5 separate regions of the Homo sapiens genome follow, and all the other regions are linked to region 5. Evidence: promoter capture Hi-C in 16 types of primary human blood cells and fetal thymus (Javierre and others, 2016). All regions are on one chromosome and are shown on one strand. Each heading gives the region's core, a stretch centred on a gene start or on the middle of the fragment in contact. The rest is flanking DNA. Distances are from core to core; before and after follow the strand shown.

Region 1 (4,619 bases), core at 1,615-4,114, 1.6 Mb after region 5:
GGTCAAGGGCCAGGACATGGCCAGGGAGACAACTGACCAGGAGAAGGCAGTGAGAGATCCCAGCTAGGAAACGTCATTTAGTTAATAGGATATGAACACGACAGATGAAAACACTGAGTTTGAAGGCAAATGAGAAAAGTCTGCTCTCTCAGTCAATTCATTGCTTACAATTAAACAGTGGAAAATAAAGAAAATGGTAACCCGGGGCTGTGTCGTGACCCAAAAGGTTTACAAAAATTGAAGATAAGAACCTATTGCCATTTAGGAGGCAGGAAAGAGGGAACAAAGCCGGAGCAGAACAAATGCCCCGAAACATAGACTTCCCCTGAGATTTTTGTTCTCCTAAATCAGGATGCCAGAGGGGCAAGCCTTTTAGGGTCACCGTATACAGCTGCGGCATGAGAAACTGGCAGGCTTTAGCAACTCAGCCCAGGGATCCCACAGTCCTGGGGGTGAGCACCTGAGGTTGAAAGTAAGGTCTCCTTATCTGCAAGAGGAGGTCAGTGATAGAAGATGCTACTATTGCAGTGCCCATCTCTTATTGGAGGGATGTTGGATGGCTGGATATCAATGAGAGAAGAATGAATGAAGGTCAAGACAAGCAGAAAAGAGGAAAAGCCACCCAGAGGTAGAGATGTGATGAGAGATAAAGAAGGCCACCTTCCTAATTTGAGATGTCCTGGACTTTGTTGTTTGTGCATAGGCAGGAGAAACGAGCTGACCTCCCATGTGGGCTGCCCCCACAATGTGGAGCACACCCGTGAGAAGTGGCCATCCAGTGGCTTTTGATTCCCTTCATTTTGCTCATTTGGTTGATGAATAGGGTTTTGCCTGCTGGGCAGTCATTCCCCATCTTCTGAAACAGCTCCACCTGTGTTTGGGCATCATCACACCTTCTATCTTAGTGGTGTGGGTGGAAGTGACCTCACCCCCAGGCTCCCAGAATTCCTGTGCCCAAGATCTGCATCATCAGAAAACCCCATTCCCTTAAGTCCGCAGTAAGTGGGCGAAAGGCTGTAGTGAGTGCCAAAAATCTGCCCCTGCAACTTTTTCTACAACCGTGTGAGAAGTCACTTTCTTTTAGTTGAGTATGCTGTGTGGACAGAATATAAGCCTGGAGGTGCTGTTGATAATGATGGCCTCTCCAAAATGAAGACAGCAAAGAGGACAGAGCAGCCAAGAGATTGGGAGAAACAGAAACTGTCCAATGACATCACTTGACCCCTGGATCCAGCTGTGCCTGAAGTCTATCTGGACTTTGCAGTTACTGAACAAATTATTTTTTTCCTTCTTTTGACTTTGGTATGGTTTGCTTAAGCTGGGAGTTTTGGCATTTGTAACTAGAGGAATCGTGAATAAGAAACTGAATAATTTGGTGCATATTCAAAAAACATTTCCATCAAACAGGGAAAACTGCTTCAGTGTGTCAAACCCAACCTCATTGTTTCCAGTGGAGACAAAAATCACATTTTCAGGAATACCTTGTTTAGGGCATAAGTAAGAGCTTTTTCTTTTTTGTTTGTTTGTTTTGTCTTAAAATCATCACTAAGCTGTAACTCAATGATAAGACCAGAAACTAGCCTAGAATTGTGTGTGTGTGTGTGTGTGTGCATGCACGCACATGCATGCACACATGTGTGTGTTGAGGCAGGAGGCAGTTTTCTTCAAGTTCCTTTATTTTGGGAATATAAGAATCCCTTGTTGCCTCAAAGACTTGCTAGTAGAATACCGCGTGCCAAAGTGGCCAGCATTTGATCCACATTTCTACAGCATCTGGGTCCGCAGAGACAGTGAGGAAACACAGCAAAAGTAAACATAATTATGGGGCCAGAGGGACCAATTGAGCAAGAAGGATGAAAAAAGTCAACTGCAGAGTTGGGAGAAAAAATTAACCTAAGAGAGAAATGGGGCCTGCTCTGGATGGTTTTCATGACTCTGAGAACTCAGAAGGAGAAGGGAAGCTTAAGATCGTGTCAAGAATATCCTAACACTAAGCCAGATGGAATTATGCCTAAGCTGTAGTTAAGCATGAAGTGGTCAAGGGATGTCTCAGAATATAAACCTTTGGCTCTCTGTTTAGGTCTACAATAAACAAACACCTCACACTTGACCAGTTTTCCTATTCCCCGATATTGTTGAATGCACAGTTCTGTTTTCTTTGCTTTGTGTTTTAAATTATTCTCAGTTATTTTTAAAAAATATCTATGTAAGGTTTCCATTGTATTGTACTGTGGATTCTTCTTCTCCATGGCTTTAATAATACAAATAATGATGGCCCTGATTTATTGAACTTTACTATATGCCAAGTCTTACCGCATGCAATAGTTTGCATGGCCTCAAAAGCGAATGTCCACTTAGAACCTGTGAATATGTCCTTGCTTAAGAAAAAAATCTCTTTTCAGATGTCATTAAGGATCTTGAAATGAGATCATCCTGGATTACAGTGGGTTATAAATCCAATGACCGGTATCCTTATAAGACAGACAGGTAAGGATCATTTAGAATGGGAGGCCATGTGAAGACGGAGGCAAAGATTGCTGTGATGCTGCCACAAGCCAAGAGCACCAGGAGCCAAGAGAAGCTGGAAAAGGCAAGGAAGGATCCTCCCCTGGGGGCTCAGCACAGTGCATGGCCCTGACAACATATGATTTTGGACTTTTGGCCCCAGAATTGTGAGAGGACCAATTTTTGTTACATTAAGCTTCCATGTTTGTTACAACTGCCCTTGGAAATTCATAAAGCGTGCTAAGTATCTCTAGTCCACTTTTGCATTAAATATTGTCAACCATCCTATAAAATAGATATTATCCCTTCTTAGCACAGTGGTCCCCAACCTTTTTGGCAAAAGGGACCAGTTTTGTGGAAGACAATTTTACATCGGACCAGGGGGTGGGGGGATTGTTTCAGCATCATTCAAGCACATTACATTTATTGTGCATTTTATCTCTATTATTATTACACTGTACTATATAATAAAATATTATATAACTCACCATAATGTAGATTCAGTGGGAGCCCTAAGCTTGTCTTCCTGCAACTAGACCATCCCATCTTGGGGGCTAGTGGTGGACAGTGACAGATCATCAGGCATTAGATTCTCATAAGGAGCATGCAACCTAGGCCCCTCGCATGCACAGTTCATGATAGGATTCTAGCTTCTATGAGAATCTAATGCTACCGCTGATCTTACAGGAGGCAGAGCTCAGGCAGTAATGTGAGGGATGGGGAGCAGCTATAAATTCAGAGGAAGCATTGCTCGCTTATCCATCACTCACCTCCTGCTCTGCAGCCTAGTTCCTAATAGGCCACGGACCAGTACCAAACCATGACCAGAGGGTTGGGGAACCCTGACTTATAAAACAAAACTGAGGCTCAGAAAAGCTGTCCTTTATTTTTTCACTACATACACTAGGTCTTAGGGCCAGTGGAATGAACATTGGTTGATTTTTCATCCAGCATCCATCACACCTTCTTTTAGTAACAGCTCTTCAGTTTTTCTCTGGGAGGAAAATCCTTTCCCCTTGGATACAAAATGATGGAACTATTAATGAGGCTGTCTTATACCTTTCTAGATAGAGATGGGCCTACACAATCTGTGTGCATCCCTGAGAGTTAGAATCACCTGAAGAGCTTTTAAACAGTAAAACTGATCAGCCCTGCCTCCACACCCACCCCTACTCCATCCCTACCAAAGAGCCTGATTCCATTGGTTTGGGATAAGGCCTGGGGATTGGTATTTTCAAAATTCCCCAGGTGAAAAGTTTAGCCAAGGTATAGGCTTCTTTCACCCTGGAATCTAAAACATGAGCACTGAGACAAAAATAAGTAAAATGGTTCCTGTTTTCCAACTGCGGTACCCTAAAGAAGCCAGACAATTATAGCTACAGGAACCCAGCACCTGGCAGCTTCCTGCTCATAGGAAACCTCGTCCTTTAGCTTTCTCTGGAGTCAAGAGCTTCCAATCTCTTATAACTTAGTAATAAGCAATTAAGGTATTAAGATGTTTCTGTTGCTAACAACCAAAGACTTCTGACCAATTCATCCAGGAACTGGTGGAACAGAAGCTCAAACTTAAGCTGTTGTTTCTATGATACTGAACCTTCCTAATTAGTCCATAAGTGATAACTCACCATGTTGCTGGCAAGATGAAGGGTATTGAGAGAAGAAAGAAAAAAATGTTATACATAGAAAAGACATGGTCTTCTATATTAAGTCTTTGGGTTACTTTAGGATTCCAGCCATATGCAAGTGTAAACTCAACATTCCTAACACATTATTAAGAACATCCTTAATCAGGAAGAAAAAATGCGTACACATTGTGGAAGACAAGAAATCAGTCTCTCTGGGAGAATAACTGGAATCCATTGTCTTGGAAATTTTGCTGATTTAGACTCCAGATGGGTTGTATTTCACATTTGCTTTCTCCTTGAATGCAGCAACTTCTAAGTTCCTAAAGGCATATAAAACAAGGGAGCTCAGTGCACAGGTAGGAGAATAACATCTTGAAGAGAAACTGGTTTTAAGAACATCAGAAGTACCCATTTAGAAACAAAAGCAACACCATTAATACAATTTTTATTCTTCTTTAATAGACATAAAGATAATTTTTAAATGACAAT
Region 2 (4,772 bases), core at 416-2,915, 1.2 Mb after region 5:
ATTGGACAGAGCTGTCTTACACACTTGAGATGTGGCAGGTCCCATTTTATGCTTCCACATGTATGAACTCTTTTAACCTCATAACACTATGAGGCAAACTCATAATTATTCTCATGAACAGATGAGGAAACTAAGGCACAGAGAGGTTAGGTAGCTTGCCCATGCTCACAAAGCTAATTAGTGGCAGAGATTGGATTGGAGCCCAGGGAGTCTTAATTCTTCCCCCTCAGGGATGTGGAACAAACTCATTGTCTTGGCCACTCATGACCACAGACTAATCTGAAGGACTGGGTAGATTCACAGCTTTCCTCCCACATCGGGCCAAATGCCTTCAGCTTCCCCTTGTAGAGATGGATTCCGCATCTCACTGTCCTACTTACTCTTCTTGAAATGCTCTCTCTTATGAGAAAGGCCCTGGTGCCTGGGGGACTGTCAGGGAAAGAGCCCTGATGGTCTGGGGTGGAGCATTCCAGGCAGGAAGCTGTGAACTCAGGAACACCTTCACTTAGCTAATGTCTGCTAATCCGGGGGTCACAGGGCTGAGAAAACAAGACCCCATACTCTTGCATGTGACAGACAGACAGTCCGGAATCCCAAAAAAATTAGAAGCTTTTGGCAAATAATGATTCCAGCATCCACTAGAAACACAATTAAATTTTATCCAATAATTTGATCTGCACAGAACATTTCAAGCTTATAGATATGCATAAAGCACAGGAAAGGACTGACTTTTTTTTGGAGAAAATAAACCAAACTTCAAATTACCTGGTAACCAAGATGCTAAAAAAATGTATTAACTCCATCGTGTCATTTTGGGAGAGCCACTTTCAAGAGACAGCCTCATATAAGCCCCAGTGTAGAGTGCGGACAACCTGGGTTTGAGGCAAACCTGCTGTTTAGCAGCTTTTGGGCCTGGCTGGGTTATCTGGGAGCCCTGGGGAGATTCAACTGCTGAGACAATACCAGCATCTCTTAAGCATTGGGTCCTTTAGTGTTAAGGTCAGTAAATAAAGTTGTTGTTTTGGCTCTAGGGCATCTCCCCATCCGAGGCTCACCTCTTATTGGTCACAATGGGGACCCTCCAGCCCTTTATCTGGCTGAGCTCCGTGTCAGAGACCTCGATCTGCAGGGGCAGCCGGGGCACCCACACGGTGACACACAGGGGGGCGCTCAGGTACTGGTATGTGAAGTTCACCACCGCATCCATCTTTCCTTTGATCTCTTTGCCATTGACAAAGATGTAGTCACAGCGCTCAGACACCTGCAAAGACAGAGGGAGAAAGGATGGAGGAGAAGTTCATGGAGCCTTGGAGACAATCCTTTTTTTGTTTTTCCTATTATCTTGCAAAGCACAAATGCTTATTTCTGGTTTCTCCTAAAGCAGAGCCTGAGACAAGGATTTGGTGCACTCAGTTTAATTGGGAGGTGACCCCAGGGAGCAGGGGTGAAGGAGCAGATGAGGAAGACAGAGAAAGAAGGAAACCCAATAGGAAGGTGCATTTTTTAGGCTGTTACAGGGACCATGGGCTCGGTTTTCAGAGGCTTCATGAAAAGTATCTAGAATTGTCCACTTGAGGAGTAAGAGGAGGGAATATTTTTAGCTACCATTTCTTATTCCTACTGGTTGAGGGCTTGCCCCACCCGGAACAGAAAACAGAAAGCAGATTGAGGTGAGACTGCAATCAAAAAGTGAACTTGAACTTGTACAGAACTGCAGCTGTAGCTGAAATCTGGGTGGGCTGAGTAATTTGATGTGAGCACCAGAGGTTTTCACACCCTGGGCAGTTATGTCTTTTCAGAAAGTAAGCTGCACCCACAACCCACCCCATCCAGCCTCCAAGGATGCAAAGGGCCCGTAGTGCCTTCCTCCCCAGCATGATTCTCACTAATTCTGAGGTCTCTCCCCTGCATGCACATGCAGGCCTGATGCAGGTTCTTCACGGTCCCCAGGCTTTGGCAAGGCCGGTCCCTGTGCCTGGGAGCACCTTCCCATCCCTATTTGCCTGACCTACCCCAGCTCAGGGGTTCCTTATGAGACCCCTTCTGTGGTCTTCTATGACCCCGTGGGATTATTTATATAATACGTGTTCGTTATGTGAATGGCAGATCACATTAGGGACTACCAACCTATGTTCCCTTTCCCTATGCGCCTCCCTTTCCTTTTCCCCTTTCTGGCAGATTGCTGTCTCAGGAAAGGGATGAGACAAAGCAGAAAGAAAAATAAACACACAGACTAAAAAAATAAAGGTTGCAAGTATGTGGCTTTTGTGTTCCCAGATTATTCATTCAAATATGACTCTATCTACCAGCCCAGAGGGCATTCCCAGTGTAGCAAGGAAACAGCAGAATGATACCTGTGTTCTCAAGCAGGCAGGAAGGGGCAATGTGGACAACAATGAGGGGCCATTGAAGAGGTAACCTGGGCGGACTGTGACCGGTAAAAAATGTCCCCTAGGAACTGTGAACAGAAGATTATAAGACAAGATGTGCCCTTCCCCAAGGCCTTGGCAATAGTTAAATCCCCTGGAAATTAGACTGGTATTCTGTTTCTGCCACCCCGATGAATTGAAAACTGAAAATAGAAACCAAGTTGGGTTATAGAGAAACAATATGACCCCTGTTGAATAGCCAAGCTTATCAGATGTGATTTAAATTGGTCCCATGTGTCCATATCACCTCTTAAACTAAGAAATCTTTGAAGGCAAAAAGTACATTGTGTTCATTTTTCACCTCTGGGTTCCTTACCTCAGCTGCTTATGAAGCAGGAGCTCAGTGAAATGGACATTGCATGGATGAATGGATGGAAGGATAGATGGATAGACAGATGAACAGATGGATGAATGCACACACTGATGCATAGACAGATGGACAGATGGAGGAAAGGATGAACAGATGGATGGATGGACAGGTGAATGGGTGGTGGACAAATGGGTAGATAGCTGGGTAGATGAATAGACAGATGAGCTGATGGGTGGATGCACACACTGATGGACAGACACATGAACGGATGGATGGACAGGTGAATGGGTGGTGGACAAATGGGTAGACAGCTGGATAGATAGATGAACTGATGGGTGGATGGACACACTGATGGACAGACACATGAATGGATGGGTGGACAGGTGAATGGGTAGTGGACAAATGGGTAGACAGCTGGATAGATAGATGAACTGATGGGTGGATGGACACACTGATGGACAGACACATGAATGGATGGGTGGACAGGTGAATGGGTGGTGGACAAATGGGTAGACAGCTGGATAGATAGAAGAACTGATGGGTGCATGCACACACTGAGGGACAGACACATGAATGGATGGGTGGACAGGTGAATGGGTGGTGGACAAATGGGTAGACAGCTGGATAGATAGATGAACTGATGGGTGGATGGACACACTGATGGACAGACACATGAATGGATGGGTGGACAAGTGAATGGCTGGTGGATAAATGGGTGAATAGGTCGACAGATTGATAGACAGCTGAACAGATGGACAGATGCACACACTGATGGACAGACAGATGGGTGGATGCACGGATGGATGGATGGAAAGATGGATGGATGGGCAGGTTAAGTGCTGGTGGATAAATGGGTAGATAGCTGGACAGATGGATAGACAGATGAACTGATGGATGGAAGCACACACTGATGCACAGACAGATGGACAGAGGGATGGATGAGCAGGGCCTTCCCTTCATGGGGATGCCTGCTTCAGGACAGTCATCAAGGATCTTGGGGTTGATGGACGATGCAGTGAGAGACTGAGATGACATGGAGCCAAAAGCTACAAAAACACAAGAAGTTAATTCAAAAGTTTCTAGAAAGTGCTCAGGCAGTGTTTCCTAACCTTTCTTGGGTCATTCACTCTTTTGAGAATACACATAAAGCTAATTCTTGCTGGAGAAATGCACACACATACAGTTTAGTGGAGTATTTCTGAGTTAATGAAGTCACTCGGAAACCCCTCACATAGCACTTAGCATACTAAGCTATAATTGCTGATTTGCTTATCTGTCTTCTGTCTAGATCATGTAGCTTGGAAAGAACAGAGTCCCCTTCTGGGGGGTCTGTGGCCTCGGCCAAATAACATCCAGTGCTGAATAAAGAACTCTTATAATCTGATCACCCTCTCTTTCCCCAGCTTCCGGGAACCATGGATGGCTACTCTGGGCTCAATTTTCATCTTCAACTTGCACTTCTGTTTGGAGAGGCAGCTGGTGAGGGCTGGGCTGAGAGAATTTGCTCCATCTGCTGGGGACAGTGGCAGGGAGCAGTTGGGGACAGTGGCAGGGAGCAGTTGGGATGGGAACACATGGATGGATCTTCTCATTCATGGTCAAGAGTGGTTTAAAAATGTTTACATGCTGATTAAAGAAGGAAGGCAATTTTAGTTGCCATCCCAGGCTTGTCATTAGCAGGTAAACACTGTCCTGGATCTGGGAAGGCATTAGCACAACAGTCGAGCAAGAGTTATATCAGTAATCACTTCTTTAGTCAATGTTGTAATTTACAGACCATTGACTTTTCTCATTTATTACCTTTCTGAGCTCTGGTGGGAGGAAACCTGGCTGCTCCCGAATATATAAATAATTAAGAGCAATGCCAAGGGTATGAAGTAGCCGTGCATGATAGAGCCATCGTCACTGCTATTCCTGAAGGTGTCATAAATGTCTGGGGACATCTCAGGATGCATTAATCATCTCCTAAGTGGCCAGCAGTGAGAACTATCATATGAAAAAGTGAGCCCACTCATCTACAAAAAGGAACCAAA
Region 3 (4,795 bases), core at 1,656-4,155, 1.7 Mb after region 5:
AGTGAGTGCTGAGTTGTATGTGGAGTGAGTGAGTGCTGAGTTGCATGTGGAGTGAGTGAGTGCTGAGTTGCATGTGGAGTGAGTGAGTGCTGAGTTGTATGTGATGTGAGTGAGTGCTGAGTTGTATGTGGAGAGTGAGTGCTGAGTTGTATGTGGAGTGAGTGAGTGCTGAGTTGTATGTGACATGGGTGAGTGCTGAGTTGTATGTGGAGTGAGTGTTGAGTTGTATGTGGAGTGAGTGACTGCTGAGTTGTATGTGGAGTGAGTGAATGATGAGGTGTATGTGGAGTGAGTGAGTGCTGAGTTGTATGTGATGTGAGTGAGTGCTGAGTTGCATGTGGAGTGAGTGAGTGCTGAGTTGCATGTGGAGTGAGTGAGTGCTGAGTTGTATGTGATGTGAGTGAGTGCTGAGTTGTATGTGGAGTGAGTGAATGATGAGGTGTATGTGGAGTGAGTGAGTGCTGAGTTGTATGTGACATGGGTGAGTGCTGAGTTGTATGTGACATGGGTGAGTGCTGAGTTGTATGTGGAGTGAGTGTTGAGTTGTATGTGGAGTGACTGCTGAGTTGTATGTGGAGTGAGTGAATGATGAGGTGTATGTGGAGTGAGTGAGTGCTGAGTTGTATGTGATGTGAGTGAGTGCTGAGTTGCATGTGGAGTGAGTGAGTGCTGAGTTGCATGTGGAGTGAGTGAGTGCTGAGTTGTATGTGATGTGAGTGAGTGCTGAGTTGTATGTGGAGTGAGTGAATGATGAGGTGTATGTGGAGTGAGTGAGTGCTGAGTTGTATGTGACATGGGTGAGTGCTGAGTTGTATGTGACATGGGTGAGTGCTGAGTTGTATGTGGAGTGAGTGTTGAGTTGTATGTGGAGTGACTGCTGAGTTGTATGTGGAGTGAGTGAATGATGAGGTGTATGTGGAGTGAGTGAGTGCTGAGTTGTATGTGACATGGGTGAGTGCTGAGTTGTATGTGGAGTGGCTGCTGAGTTGTATGTGGAGTGAGTGAATGATGAGGTGTATGTGGAGTGAGTGAGTGCTGAGTTGTATGTGGAGTGAGTGAGTGCTGAGTTGCATGTAATGTCAGTAAATCCTGAGTTGAACTTGTGTGGAGACCCAGGGTCCCCACAGCCCTATCACCTCTTGATTTCTCTGCACCCATTTGTCTCAGAGGCAGACAAGCACCATGGACAGAGGTGATGAGTTTCGGTGCCTTTGGATGTTTGGGGAAGTGAAGAGAAAACCTCACCTTCTGACCAAGGTGAAAATTCTATAGGAACTAGATGGAGGTGGCCCCATTTCCACTGTTACTGCTAAGTTCAGGGCATAGCATTGACCTATTTGAAGGCAACGATGGTGGTTATTTCACATTCTTGTTTTGAAGATCTCATTGAAATAGAAGCATGCAAATTCATAGAAGTTAAAAAATTTTGTTCAATTATAAGATCTCCAGTAATGTAATACTTTTCAGAAATACTTTCTTCTTCCATAATGGGTGCACAGTTTACAGAGTGGTTCTGAGAAGATCATGCTGACTTTAGTAAACATGGAAGATTTTCTCCTAATGAAAAGTAACCATTGCTTAATTTTTAAACCATTCCTTACATCTTAAACAGAAGGTTTGCTAAGAAAATTGTATGTTTTCAGGATTTTAAGATACATCTTCTAAGACACTTCTGAGAGCCATCTCAAAATCTTGTCAATTTTCTTAGCAAACCTTCTGACTATACAACTAAAAAAGATTCTAAGTTTGTAGTTCCTGAAGGCTGGCTAAGAGGTGTTAACTGGGTGAGAATGTTAATTCCTGACATGTTCAAAGCTTGTGTGTCATTTTTAGGATATTAATAATCTTGAGATATCAAATATGGCATTGCTCAGAGATCAGAAGTTACAGAGATGCTGGGAATTTAGGCAGGTGGTTTAACAATCCTGAGAGCAGCAAGAACCTCAAATACAACGAAAATGGGGCAAGCAACTTTAAGGCATATGACTTCAACCTCATACCCTGCCACCAAGAAGTGAAACTTAACACACAGGCAAATGTATCTACAAGTCCAAAATCTTTGAGATGGCATTTAAAATTTTAAATTTCTTTCCAGCGACAGAACGCTAGGACCTTATTTATCTGCCCGAAATGCAAGACTCTTGACAGCAGGGACCATGCCTGTCTTGTTCACTGAGTATATCCCCAACAGTTGACACAGTATTTGGCCCAGCTTACACCCTGAATAAATACTTGTTGAATGAGCTATGAATAAAGCAGCCCCTATATTAGAGACCACAAACTTAAATCTAGGGAGCCCCACTCGCCAAGATGAATGCCTTAAATAGAGCAGGTGTCAGACAGCAAGGAAAGGTGGGGACTGTGGCAAATGGAGACCTGCACCATCCCGGTCAAATGGTAGCTAGTGTTCAACTCTGGCTTAATGTTCCCAAGTGCAAATGGGGAGCACAGTGTGGCTGAATTGACTGAGTTTTATGTAAATTGCCCCAATGGTTAAGTGTTGGATACTAATTTCATTTCTTTAAAACACAAAATAAGCTTTGAAAAGGCATCCATGGTCCAATGAGTCTTTTCTTCTTTCTATTTTGCTGTATTTGTCCTAAATAAACAAGCAGAACCCCAGGGGGAAATTCCTGCATAAAATTCATCACAGAAACCTTGTTAGCAAGTTACGCTTTCCATTTTCATGTTTCTACCAATGCAGACAGGCTTAAAATCCTGAAAATCCCTGGCACATGGGTGGACAAAACTTATGGATTCTTAGAAGCACGGCTCTTCCTCACAATTAAAAACCTGGCTGACAACTGTCATGAGATTATACTTGGACAAAGATGTATTGGTTTGGGCACTGGAAGGAAGTGAGGCTGCTTGAGATTTGGTCATAAATTAAAAGCAAACAAAAGGACACTTTGGAATCAGGAGAGAACAGAAGTAGGGAGCGACTGGGGTCTTCATGCAGACATAGAGTCGCTGCTGTCCACGGAACCCATCCTTCCTCCAGGGCTGAGGACTCTGCTGGGCTGGGGCTATGGCTACTCCCTTGTTACAGAAGGGCTGGCACCATGAAAGAGGCCTCTCTTAGGACTGCGTCAGTTTCCCTGAAAAAGTAAAATTCTCTTCATCATTGTCACCCATGGAGAAAAACATTTTGGAATGTTATATGAAAAATGCAGACACTGCAATGAGATGCTGGATGTTGCTGTTTGGTTAGGATCTGTCTCAGTTTCCTGATTGGTATTCTGGGGCCGCCATAACAAATTACCACAAGCTTGGTGGCCCAAAACACAGACACTTACTCTTTTACAGTTCTGGAGGCCAGAAGTCCAAAATCAAGCTGTGGGCAGGTCTGTGCTCCCTCCAAAGTCTCTACAAGATGAGGTTCCTGCTTCTTCCAGCTTCTGGTCCTGGGGCATTCCTTGGCTTGTGGCTGCATCCCTCCCATCTCTGTATCTGTCTTCACATGGTCTTCTCCTCTGTGTCAGTGTGTCCTTTTCTGTGTCTTAACAGAACAGCCTCACTGGCTTAAGGGCCCACCTGAATCCAGTATGACCTTGTTACAGGAAAGGGGTCCTGATCCAGATGCCAAGAGAAGGTTCTTGGATCTCGCACAAGAAAGAATTCAGGGTAAATCCGTAGAGTATAGTGAAAGCAAGTTTATTAGGAAAGCAAAGGAATGAAAGAATGGCTACTCCATAGACGGAGCAGCCCCAAGGGATGCTGGTTGCCCATTTTTATGGTTATTTCTTGACGATACGCTAAACAAGGGGTGGATTATTCATGCCTCCCATTTTTAGACCATATAGGGTAACGTTCTGCAGTTGCCATGGCATTCCTAAACTGTCATGGCGCTGGTAGGAGTGCAGCAGTGAGGACAACCAGGGGTCACTCTGGTGGCCATCTTGGTTTGAGTGGGTTTTGGACGGCTTCTTTACTGCAGCCTGTTTTTATGCAAGGTTTTTATGACCTGTGTCTTGTGCCAACCTCTTATCTCATCCTGTGAGTTAGAATGCTTTAACAGGGAATTCAGCCCAGTAGGTTTCAGCCTTATTTTACCCAGCTTCTATTCAAGATGGAGTTGCTCTGGTTCAAATGCCTCTGACAATTTTACCACCATCTTTCCCTTAATTACACCTGCAGAGATTCTACTCCCAAATAAGGCAACATTCTGAGGTTCTGGGTAGACATGAATTTTGGGGAGACACCATTCAACCCAGTACTGGATTGAAAGGCAGAATCATGGGGGGATGGGAAGGGGAGATGATGTATTGTTCCCTACCCCCTGTATCTGTCAGCATCTCAGTAGGTAAGAAATACACACTCAAACTGGGAATGTGGAGAGAATTTTATAAAGGGACTGTTTATAAAGGTGTGGTCGGGGTTTGAGGAAATCAAAGAAATAATGCAGATTTGGGGCTGGGGAGAGTGAGGAGCTGTGATCACTCCCAGACTTAAGGGGACAAGGGGAAGGGGTGGTTCTGGGAACACGGAACAGATAAATAGAGAGTAAATTCGATGGGCGCTTTGGCCTTGGGTAACAGATGCGGGCCGGCCAGGATGCTCTCACGGGAGGGTGTGGGGAATAAATGCCCAAACTTACTTTCTTCCCACTCTCCCGTCTTCTGTTGGTGCCTCCTATCAGCCAAGCCCAACTGGATGCTGAAGACAGAAGCCCATGGAGGCCACCTCCCTGGGCACAAAGATGGGGGGAGCAGGGGCTGGGGAGAATCTGCCAGGAAAGCAGAAGATCTCAAACTCAGCCTCTCAGCTTGGAATTGGTGGAGAGATAAGCGCAGGA
Region 4 (4,330 bases), core at 387-2,886, 1.2 Mb after region 5:
TCCTTGGTCCAAAAGCTCTGCAGAGATTTCCAAATTAGGCTTTATTTATCAAGCATGAATCTCTCCCCTTAAAAGCCAATTTTTCACACACAGAAGGACCTGCACTGAGGAGGCCTGAGATATCTGGGAGTTAATTTTATTTTTGCCTACTCACCAAGGCTTAACATTTACACTCAGGTTTGTGCTTCCAAAGGGAGAGAGGTCATCATTCTCACTCTCTGCATTTCTGTGATTCTCATGAAATGGAATTATATAACCCTGAAGCCTGCAGTTATGAGTGAATATGTTCCAGTATTATTCCGGGTATTTGTGTAGTAAATGTTCTGCTGGAAAAAAATAAAGCAAGCTTAGTTTAGAATTTCTCCTTTCTTACGGTAGAAAATCCCTAATGAGGGCCTGTAACTGCAGCCTCACTCAGGGTCCCTTCTGGATAATACACATTTGCTGTGCTTATTCCCTGAAGAAAAGGAAAAAGAACTTTGACCCTCTGTTTTGGGTAGATGTCGATGAAAGTATTGATAAACTTGTTTCTGAAATAGGCACAATTACACTTTGGCCAGGAAATGCAGGGAAATTGTGTTCTTTTACATGAAAATCAATTACGGAGGCAGCAGCTTCAGAATAATTAGAACATATTAAAATTTTTATGAAATACCAATTCGGACTTCATGAGTGAGAAGAGCCTGAGTACGGACCACAAAGCCCGAAAGAGGTTTCCATGGTAACACCACTTCCCCCCACAATGCTGGTGAGCCCTGGCCATTGCAAATGAGAGGCACGCTCTTTTGAGTTCAACCCACTTCCCTGATTGAAATCCCCCTTCTCTGTCTTGCTCCTGGAGAGGCCATCCCGGGTTTGCTTTTTAAAATATCCCTTCGGCAAATATCACTTGTGACTCCTCAGATGCACTGGGCTTTTCTATTCAAGTGGGAGAAGAGGCAGCCTGAAGGTTCCAGAGTGTCTCTTGGCCCAGCTCACCATCAGTATCAGGAAGATGAAAACGGGGCCGCCCAAGGGCTAATGGAGTCTCAAACTCCCATTCGATTGGGTACCATTGGCCTCACCCCAGACATTTGTGGGGCCCAAAGTGAGAGCATCAGTGGAGGTCCACCTGCCACAGATGTAAATGCTTAAAGGTTACTAATCAGGTGAACAAACAAAATGCGTTCCCTATCCTTGCCTTCAATGTAGGACAGGTGAGCCCCAAAGTTGGGGCTTAGGTTGGAAGGGTTCTCGGCTTTGCCTAGGAAAGAATTCAAGGGCAAGCTGGTGGTGTTAGACAGGAATGTTTTACTGAATGGTACTGCTCCTTGTGGGGCAGGACTAACTCAGGCAGTGCACCCAGAGTTGACAATGTACGGGCTCTTGGCAATTGCATTTATACCTACTTTTAATTATGTGCAAATTAAGGGGAGGGCTACAGCAAATTAAAGGGTGGGTGAGTTAGAACTTTCTAGGAAAGGGACAGTAATTTCCAGGTTGTTGCCAAGGAAAGGGGTGACAACTTCCAATGTGTTCCCATGGTGTTTGTAAACTGTCACGATGCTGGTGGGAGCCTCTTATGCCAATGAGCAATGAGGGCAGCTGGGGATGGCTTTTGTCACCATCTGCTGGTTCTGCCGGTTCTTTCACTTTATCCTGACGGCACCAGATCCTGTTTTGGTCAACGGGGTTGTCACCGGAAAACAAATCCTGCTGGTCTCTTTCCTCACTTTGACACTATGCCTGCATAACAACCCAGAAAGCCAGGCTCCAGTGGAAAACCCTTTGACTCCCTGTAGTTGCACAGGACATGGTACATACAACAGCGAAAGCCAGCCTCAGCCTTGATGCCCGGCGGTGGGTTGCTCACCTTCCCTGCCTCCCGCATCTTTCTCCTGCAATTGGAGAGGCCTCACCTGTCTGCATGCAAACACCTGTCCCCTCCCTCCCGCATCTTTCTTCTGCAATTGTGGAGGCCTCACCTGTCTGCATGCAAACACCTGTCCTCAGAAGCCAGCTCTGCTTAGATTCCCTGCAAACAGCTACTCCCTGGGTGCCTCTCTGGGCCAGGCTGGGTACATGGGCTTCATGGTCCTCTCTTGGGAGGTCAGCCTCAAGGTAGAGGCCCTTACTGCTCTGGAAATAGTCCTGGGGCCATTGTGCAGAGGATTCTCGGGTCCAGCTCTGTGGAGCATAGTCTAGAAGTGGATACCAAAGCCTTGGTGGACACCTCCCGTTGGCCTGTGAATTAGTCTGCTGGGGTTGCCATAACAAAATGCCACAGACTGCATGGCTTTAATAACAGAAATTTATTTTATCACAGTCTGGGGGCTAAAAGTCTAAGATGAAGGTGTCAGCAGGTTTGGTTTCTCCAGAGGCCCCTCTCTTGGTTGGGGTCAGCCTTCTTCTCTCTTTCTCACCGAGGCCTCTCATGGTCTTTCCTCCGTGCACACGCATCGCTGGTGCCTCTGTGTGTCCAAATGTCTTCTTACCACCACACCAGTCAGACTGTATTAGGGCCAACCTAATAGACTCATTTTAACTTAATCATCTCTTTAAAAGGTCCTATCTCCAAACGCAGTCACATTCTGAGATATTGGGGGTTAGGGCTTCAACAGATGCATTTTTAAAGAGACATAATTCAGCTCATCATAGCCTCCTTCACAGGGAGGAACACAGGTAAATGATAATGCAAGGGCAGAGGAACACTGGAGCGGGGTCCTCCGAAGTGTGGGGCCAGGGCAGAGACCCACCGTGCCCACGTGTAAGAGCCAGACTGCACTTTTTATTTGTTTGCTGCTGAAGCTAATGGTCTGGCTTCCCTGCTTTCGGTGACCTCTTTTCACTGCTGGACCATTTAAATGGCGTCCTCAGATCCTAGGATCATATCTATCCATTGCACTAATTCCGTGATGAGCTCTCTCTGGGTAAATCACAAAGCTTTCTTCGTAGATCCCCCAGGTGGGAGTGCAGCCAACATTAGGCCAGTATTAATGGGCCATCAGCACAATTGAACATGGTCCGCTCATAGAAAGTCACCGAAACTGTTGTTAGATTAATCATTTTCAGAACTAAAGAAAGGAAAAAAAAAATCTGCCAGTGATATTGATGAGAGAAGCAGATTTCTAGCAGTTTCCAAAAGAGAAGGCATTTTCTCCACAAGGGAAATGCAGAAAACGGTCGTTTTGGATAGAAAAGCTTTTCTTGATTGATCAAACGATTCAGAGTTTACATTTTAGGCCAAGGGAGCACTGAACTGAGGTTGCTTTTTTTCCTCCTCTCAAGAGACAGCTGAGTTTGACCCTTTGCTAATATGGAAACATCAGTGAACCGTCGATTTTCCTTTGCAGACGGCCAGCGAAGTGAAAATCGGTCCAGCAGACACATGCTTAACTTGTCAATCTGCACCGGTCAGGTACCATTGTCTGACAAATCCCTCAGGATTACATCTTGTCCAATTTTTCTCCCCAGCAACAAAGAGAATATGATAGAATTTGCTGAATGCAGATACTCAAAGAAAACTCCCCACTTGTAGACAAGCCTGTGCGTTCCTGAGGCCCACTGCAGAGGTTTCTCATCCAGTTTCAACACAATAATAAAGAACAAATAAGCAATTCTTTGTTGTAGCAATTAGGAATGCTACTAGTAATACCAATATCTGCACTGAGTAGTTTCAAAGAGCTGAGCAGTGGGTGAAGTGTTTTGCTTGTATTATGAGAATATCTTCCCAATGACATTGGAAGTGAGCCATCACTCCCATTTTACAGCTGAGCAAACTGAGGATGAAAGTCACTAAGTAACTTGCTAATGGCCACTCAGCTTATAGGAAGTCCCTGAGCCAGCCAGATATTGTTTTCTTTTCTCGTTTGTTTTTTTGAGATGGAGTCGCGCTCAGTCACCCAGACTGGAGTGCAGTGGTGTGATCTCGGCTCACTGCAACCTCCACCTCCCAGGTTCAAGCAATTCTCCTGCCTCAGCCTCCCGAGTAGCTGCGACTACAGGTGTGCATCACTATGCCTGGCTAATTTTTGTATTTTTAGTAGAGATGGGGTTTCGCCATGTTGGCCAGGCTGGTCTTAAACTCCTGACCTCAGGTGATCTGCCCTCCTTGGCCTCCCAAAGTGCTGGGATTATAGACATGAGCCACCGTGCCCAGCTAGATTTTCTTTTAAATGTAAAATTAAATGGTTTTTAGTATATTTATGGAGCTGTGCAACCACCACCATGGTCAATTTTAGAAAATTGTCATCACTCCCCAAAGAAACCCCAGACCCTTTAGCTATCACTTCCCTAATCACCATTCTCCCCAGCCCAAAGCAGCACTCTACTTTCTATCTCTATGGATGTG
Region 5 (4,267 bases), core at 1,075-3,574:
GTAAAAGCCTCATCCACACAGCATGAACAATTAGTGCAATTTAATTACCGACAAAATTAGGCTTACAGCTTGATTTATGGCCCCGCAGATGAAACACATATTCTTGGAGGAAAGCAGATTTCTTACAAGTAACTTGAGAGAGACAAGGCAGGCGATTTTGATGGGAAGTTGTCCTGGGGCAGGGGCTGGAGTTAGGGACCTATGAGCCCTCAGTGTCCATCTCCAAGTCTAAGTTTTGCTTCCCCACAATTAGCTGTGTTAATTACCCAAAGAAGATTAGATGTACCAGGGAGAATGGCATACTGGAGAGAGAAAAAGTAAGAAGCCATTCTTGCATCTTATTTTAGCCACTGATTAGGTATCTGAAGTTGCATCTTCCCAAAAAATCTTCCATACCAAAGAGTGGAAAAAACTTTTGTTTCGCCAACTACGCATAATGAAGAAACCGTTTAACATTTTAGGCAGCAGCTGGAACTTGACAGTCACCTTTTGTCTTCACATTACAGATAGAGAAACCTTCTGCAATGGCAAAAAGAAAAGTTATTTGATGATTGCAATTCAGGGGAAAAACTCAATTTGATTTAGAGAAACATAAAATGATTGTTTTTAATAAAGAACAGGGACCACTTGTTTCTAGTCAATATGTCTGAGAAATGTCTTACAAATAGACTCAGTGTCACAAATAGATGATTTACAAATAGACTCAGACCCACTGTAGCGTTAAGGATGGAACCTGGATTATGCATTCAGTGCGGGCATCAATTTTGACACTCAGAGACCAGGTGAAGGTGTCCAAGAGACGAAAGCTCAGCTCTCTCATCACTCAGGTGAAGGAGAAAGGGGACCAGTGGTTCCAGCACGTGTTCCGCAGGCCGGCAGCATCAGCATCACCTGGAACTTTTTAGGAACGGAGATCGGAAGTCCCACCTTGACCTGCCGAGATAGCTCTGGGGTGGGCCCAGCAACCCAGGTCTAACAAATTTTCCAGTGACTCTCCTGCTGGTTCAAACTTCAGAAACAGTGAAAGAGACAATCTCTTAGGGTCTTTGCAGCGTCGACTCTTAGGAATTTTACAGGAGAGCAATACAAAGAGAAAAGGCAACAAGTTTAAGAAACAAACAAAAGAAAAAACAGAAAGACAGATATATTCAGATAAGTAGATACAGAATAAAAGACAAGAGCACATCTCAAAGGACATGAACCCAGAAAAACAATCTTCGGTAGAACAGCAGTGGCTTTTTTGATCTTCCTTGAAACTTTGAAAGCTAAAAACTCTTAAAGCATTGGTATATTTCTGCAACTACAGGCATACAGGATAAAAAAGTCCATTGCCCCCTCAGTCAGATGATAACGACCCATTTTTATCTACTGAGGTGAATTCACCTCATTAGATTCAGGGCTTGTTGGTTTACAATATTCCTTAAAAATTCTGAATGCTTTTCTTCCCTCTGAGCTTTGATGGGGTTAATTTAAAGGCTCTCGTGGAGCAAAGCAGTTCTTGGGCTACAAATTACAGGACGGTGCTTAGGGATCTTGGTGTGGGAATGTCTTAGTTGGAGATTCCGGGCGGTGTTGAGAATCATGTCTTTTATCTTCTCAAAGCAATGTTGTCTCCTAATGGATCCATTTCCTTTCCCAGTGAGCCCTGGGGAGCACACGACATGTTTCTAGGGACACTAACTTGGGGGATCGCTCTGGGAAGGGGCTTGGGGCCAGCATGACCTCAGTGTGGCGTGTCAGAGACTTCCTCACTGCGATCCCTGGGAGATGCGCAGGGCGGGGCGAGGGCCCTTCTCCAGCCATCCTTGCGCTCTCCCTGGCGAAGAGCCTCAGGTGCCCCCGGGCTGGAGGACCTCCCCTGGGCCTGAGGTTTTGATGACGACGAGAGGCCGGTGGCCAGCTGGACACCTGTTGGGAGAGTGGGTGGCTCCGTCCCCGGGGTGCGCCCGCGCTGGGAGCCCTCGCCCGCCGCCACCGCGCGTCCGCGCTCGCAGGGAGGGTGGCCGGGAGGCTGGGCGTGGGGCGGCCAGGGGGAGGTGGGATTTACTTTGCGGATTGGGGCTCACAGCTGTCACTCCGAAAGGGTGGGGCTTTTTAAAAGCAGACAAATTTTTAAGGCGAAAGCCCCAGCCGGCTCCGGGCACCGTGGCGATCGCCTCCGTTCCGTTCCGGATGCGGTCCTTGCGGAGCGGAGCCCCCGCGCCTGCTGGCAGGAGGCAGCTGCGTTGCTCGGCCGCGTCCCCGAGCCGGCGGGCCCTCCTCCGCGCACATCTGGCCCGCCTCCCCCGGGCGCAGGGGGGAGCCCCGCGTCTCCGGAGCCTGCAGTGCGCTCGGCGCGCGTAGAGCCCCGCGAGCCCCAGCCGGGCCCGGGGCCGGGCGGGCCGAGGCGGCGGCCGGGGAGCAGCCGCACCCGCCAAACTTTGGGTGCCGGAGCGCGCGCGCGCCCGAGCCCCGAGGCGCAGCGGCCGGCCTGGGATGGGGGCTGCGGGCCAGGGAGCCCCGGGCCGCCCAGCGAGCCCGGCCACCCGCCCGGGGGGCTCCGAGCCGCCTCTGCCCGCGTCCCGGGCTCCGCAGCCCCGCCACCCCGGCGCCGCCTGCGCCAGCGCCCGCTAGCCAGCCCGGGAGCAGCTGGAGCCGCCGGAGCCCTGCGCCTGGAGGCGCCCCTCCTTGGGCCACCGGGGGCCACTCTTCGCTCGGGTAAACAGGAAAGGAAATACCCCCTGTGGATTAAAATTTAAAAAAAATTCTGTTGGGGTCGAAGGAGGGAGGTGGGGTTTGCCTGCGCGCGTGTTGGACTCCGGAGAGCAACTCAGGAGCCCGCGCGGTCGTCGCCTCCCGGCCTGGCCATGGACTGGCGGGAAGAGGGAGCAGGGCGCCCGGGCTGCTCGGGCCCCTAGCCGGGCGCTCCCTCGCCACCGGCCCCGCTGCGGGCCTCTAGGGGACTGAGACGGTCTCTTGTTCGCCTGGACGGCGCCGGGGAGCGGAGGATCTGCGCTCCGGGTCTCCAGGATGTGCCCGTCTGAGATGGGGACGCTGTGGCACCACTGGTCGCCGGTACTCATCAGCCTGGCCGCCCTGTTTTCCAAAGGTGAGGACGCCGCGGCCGCCAGGGCCCGGGGACTAACTTCGCCTGGAGTGAGTGTGTGGGAGTGTGTGGAGGATGGGGGCGGCCGGGAGAGAGGGCTCGTGTGCAAGTGTGTGTGCGCGCTTGTGTGCATGTGTGTGTGCGCGCGTGTGAACGTGCGCTCGTGCGGCAGCCAAGCTCCTCGGACGCCCCTTGGCCGAAGGTGCTTGTCCTGGAGCACTTGGGTGGGAGGCCTTAGGTGAGACTACTAAGGAGCCGAAAGGAAAGGAAGGCTGTTTCCTGAAAGCCTTTTCTGTAAAGGGAGAGGGCGTGGGGACCCTTGAGAGGAAAGGTGGCCTCTGGAGGGCCGAGCCGGCTGTCGGGGGAGGAGGGGATTGAGATGACCAGGGAGATTTCTGGAATTTGGGATTGACTTTCCCTGGTGGCACTGACCTATTTGGAAATAATTTTGGAGCACTCCTGTTGTATGGGAATACTATTTTGTGTATTATAGGCTGCCAAAAATATAGCCTGGGGGGCGGCTCTGAAGAAGGGGGATGGGTTTCTCCAGGTCTGCCGCTGTGAGGTTTGGGCACAGGGTCTGGCGCTCACCCTTCCGTAGGGTGCTGGGAGCAGCAGCGGCCCCGCAGGGTGCACGTGGAGTTTCAGCTACAAGTTGTGACCCGAATTTTCCCAGCGGAGCCCTGACTTGAAGCCATGTGTCAAGGCAGGAATTCCTCAATGTTTCCTCTTCTCTTCTGCCAGCATCCCTGTCTGTCATGGGAAGAGCAAGTTTGGAAGCTCTGGACAGTCATTCTTCCTTGAAGAGAAATGGTGTGATTTGTGCGGGAGATTCTTTCTCATGATTGACCTGGGCTGCTTGTGTGTGGTTCCCCCACCCGTGCCCCTTTCCTGCAGATAGATACACTGGGAGGAGAGTGAAGCGTCTCAGCAGTCTCTAATACGTGCTGCAAGAACCCTGTACCCATATTTTTCTGCAAAGATTTTTGAGATGAGATCTCTCTCAGAAACTTCAAAGCCAATTATCACGCACAAAGTCTTTTAATTACATGAATTGTCTGTTCTCTGAGTTCTTCCAGAATCACTGAGGTTATGTTGCTTTGGATCTGATAATAGATGAAGACAGTTGAAATGCCGAGTTCTGTGATGGTTCGATTTAGAAAGAGGAATTTACGTTCCCCC

What was found. Contacts are between HindIII fragments. The CHiCAGO score rates a contact against its expected background, and 5 or more counts as called.
Region 1: a contact is called between a fragment that was not itself captured here and the fragment with the promoter of TMEM132D in region 5, in 2 of 17 cell types (M2 macrophages and M0 macrophages). The highest score is 6.3, in M2 macrophages.
Region 2: a fragment that was not itself captured here is called in contact with the fragment with the promoter of TMEM132D in region 5 in 2 of 17 cell types (M0 macrophages and M2 macrophages); the score reaches 9.8 in M0 macrophages.
Region 3: a fragment that was not itself captured here is called in contact with the fragment with the promoter of TMEM132D in region 5 in 2 of 17 cell types (total B cells and naive B cells); the score reaches 6.3 in total B cells.
Region 4: a fragment that was not itself captured here is called in contact with the fragment with the promoter of TMEM132D in region 5 in 1 of 17 cell types (naive B cells); the score reaches 5.8 in naive B cells.

What each region holds. Positions count from the first base shown.
Region 1 is chr12:128,273,886-128,278,504 of GRCh38, reverse strand. All of the region lies in intron 1 of TMEM132C (transmembrane protein 132C), which reads right to left. Among named protein-coding and RNA genes, the nearest start is that of TMEM132C, 9.0 kb to the right of the region's middle. The HindIII fragment of the contact is 321 bases long and covers 2,704-3,024 here.
Region 2 is chr12:128,690,318-128,695,089 of GRCh38, reverse strand. It overlaps TMEM132C (transmembrane protein 132C), which reads right to left. Exons shown (of 9, transcript NM_001136103.3): 6 at 1,056-1,261. Among named protein-coding and RNA genes, the nearest start is that of SLC15A4, 130 kb to the left of the region's middle. The HindIII fragment of the contact is 1,940 bases long and covers 696-2,635 here.
Region 3 is chr12:128,237,327-128,242,121 of GRCh38, reverse strand. No RefSeq gene overlaps it. Among named protein-coding and RNA genes, the nearest start is that of TMEM132C, 27 kb to the left of the region's middle. The HindIII fragment of the contact is 730 bases long and covers 2,541-3,270 here.
Region 4 is chr12:128,740,511-128,744,840 of GRCh38, reverse strand. No RefSeq gene overlaps it. Among named protein-coding and RNA genes, the nearest start is that of SLC15A4, 81 kb to the left of the region's middle. The HindIII fragment of the contact is 2,576 bases long and covers 349-2,924 here.
Region 5 is chr12:129,902,082-129,906,348 of GRCh38, reverse strand. TMEM132D (transmembrane protein 132D) reads left to right here and starts at 2,324. Exons shown (of 9, transcript NM_133448.3): 1 at 2,324-3,088. The coding sequence starts at 3,010. The HindIII fragment of the contact is 8,442 bases long and covers 1-4,267 here.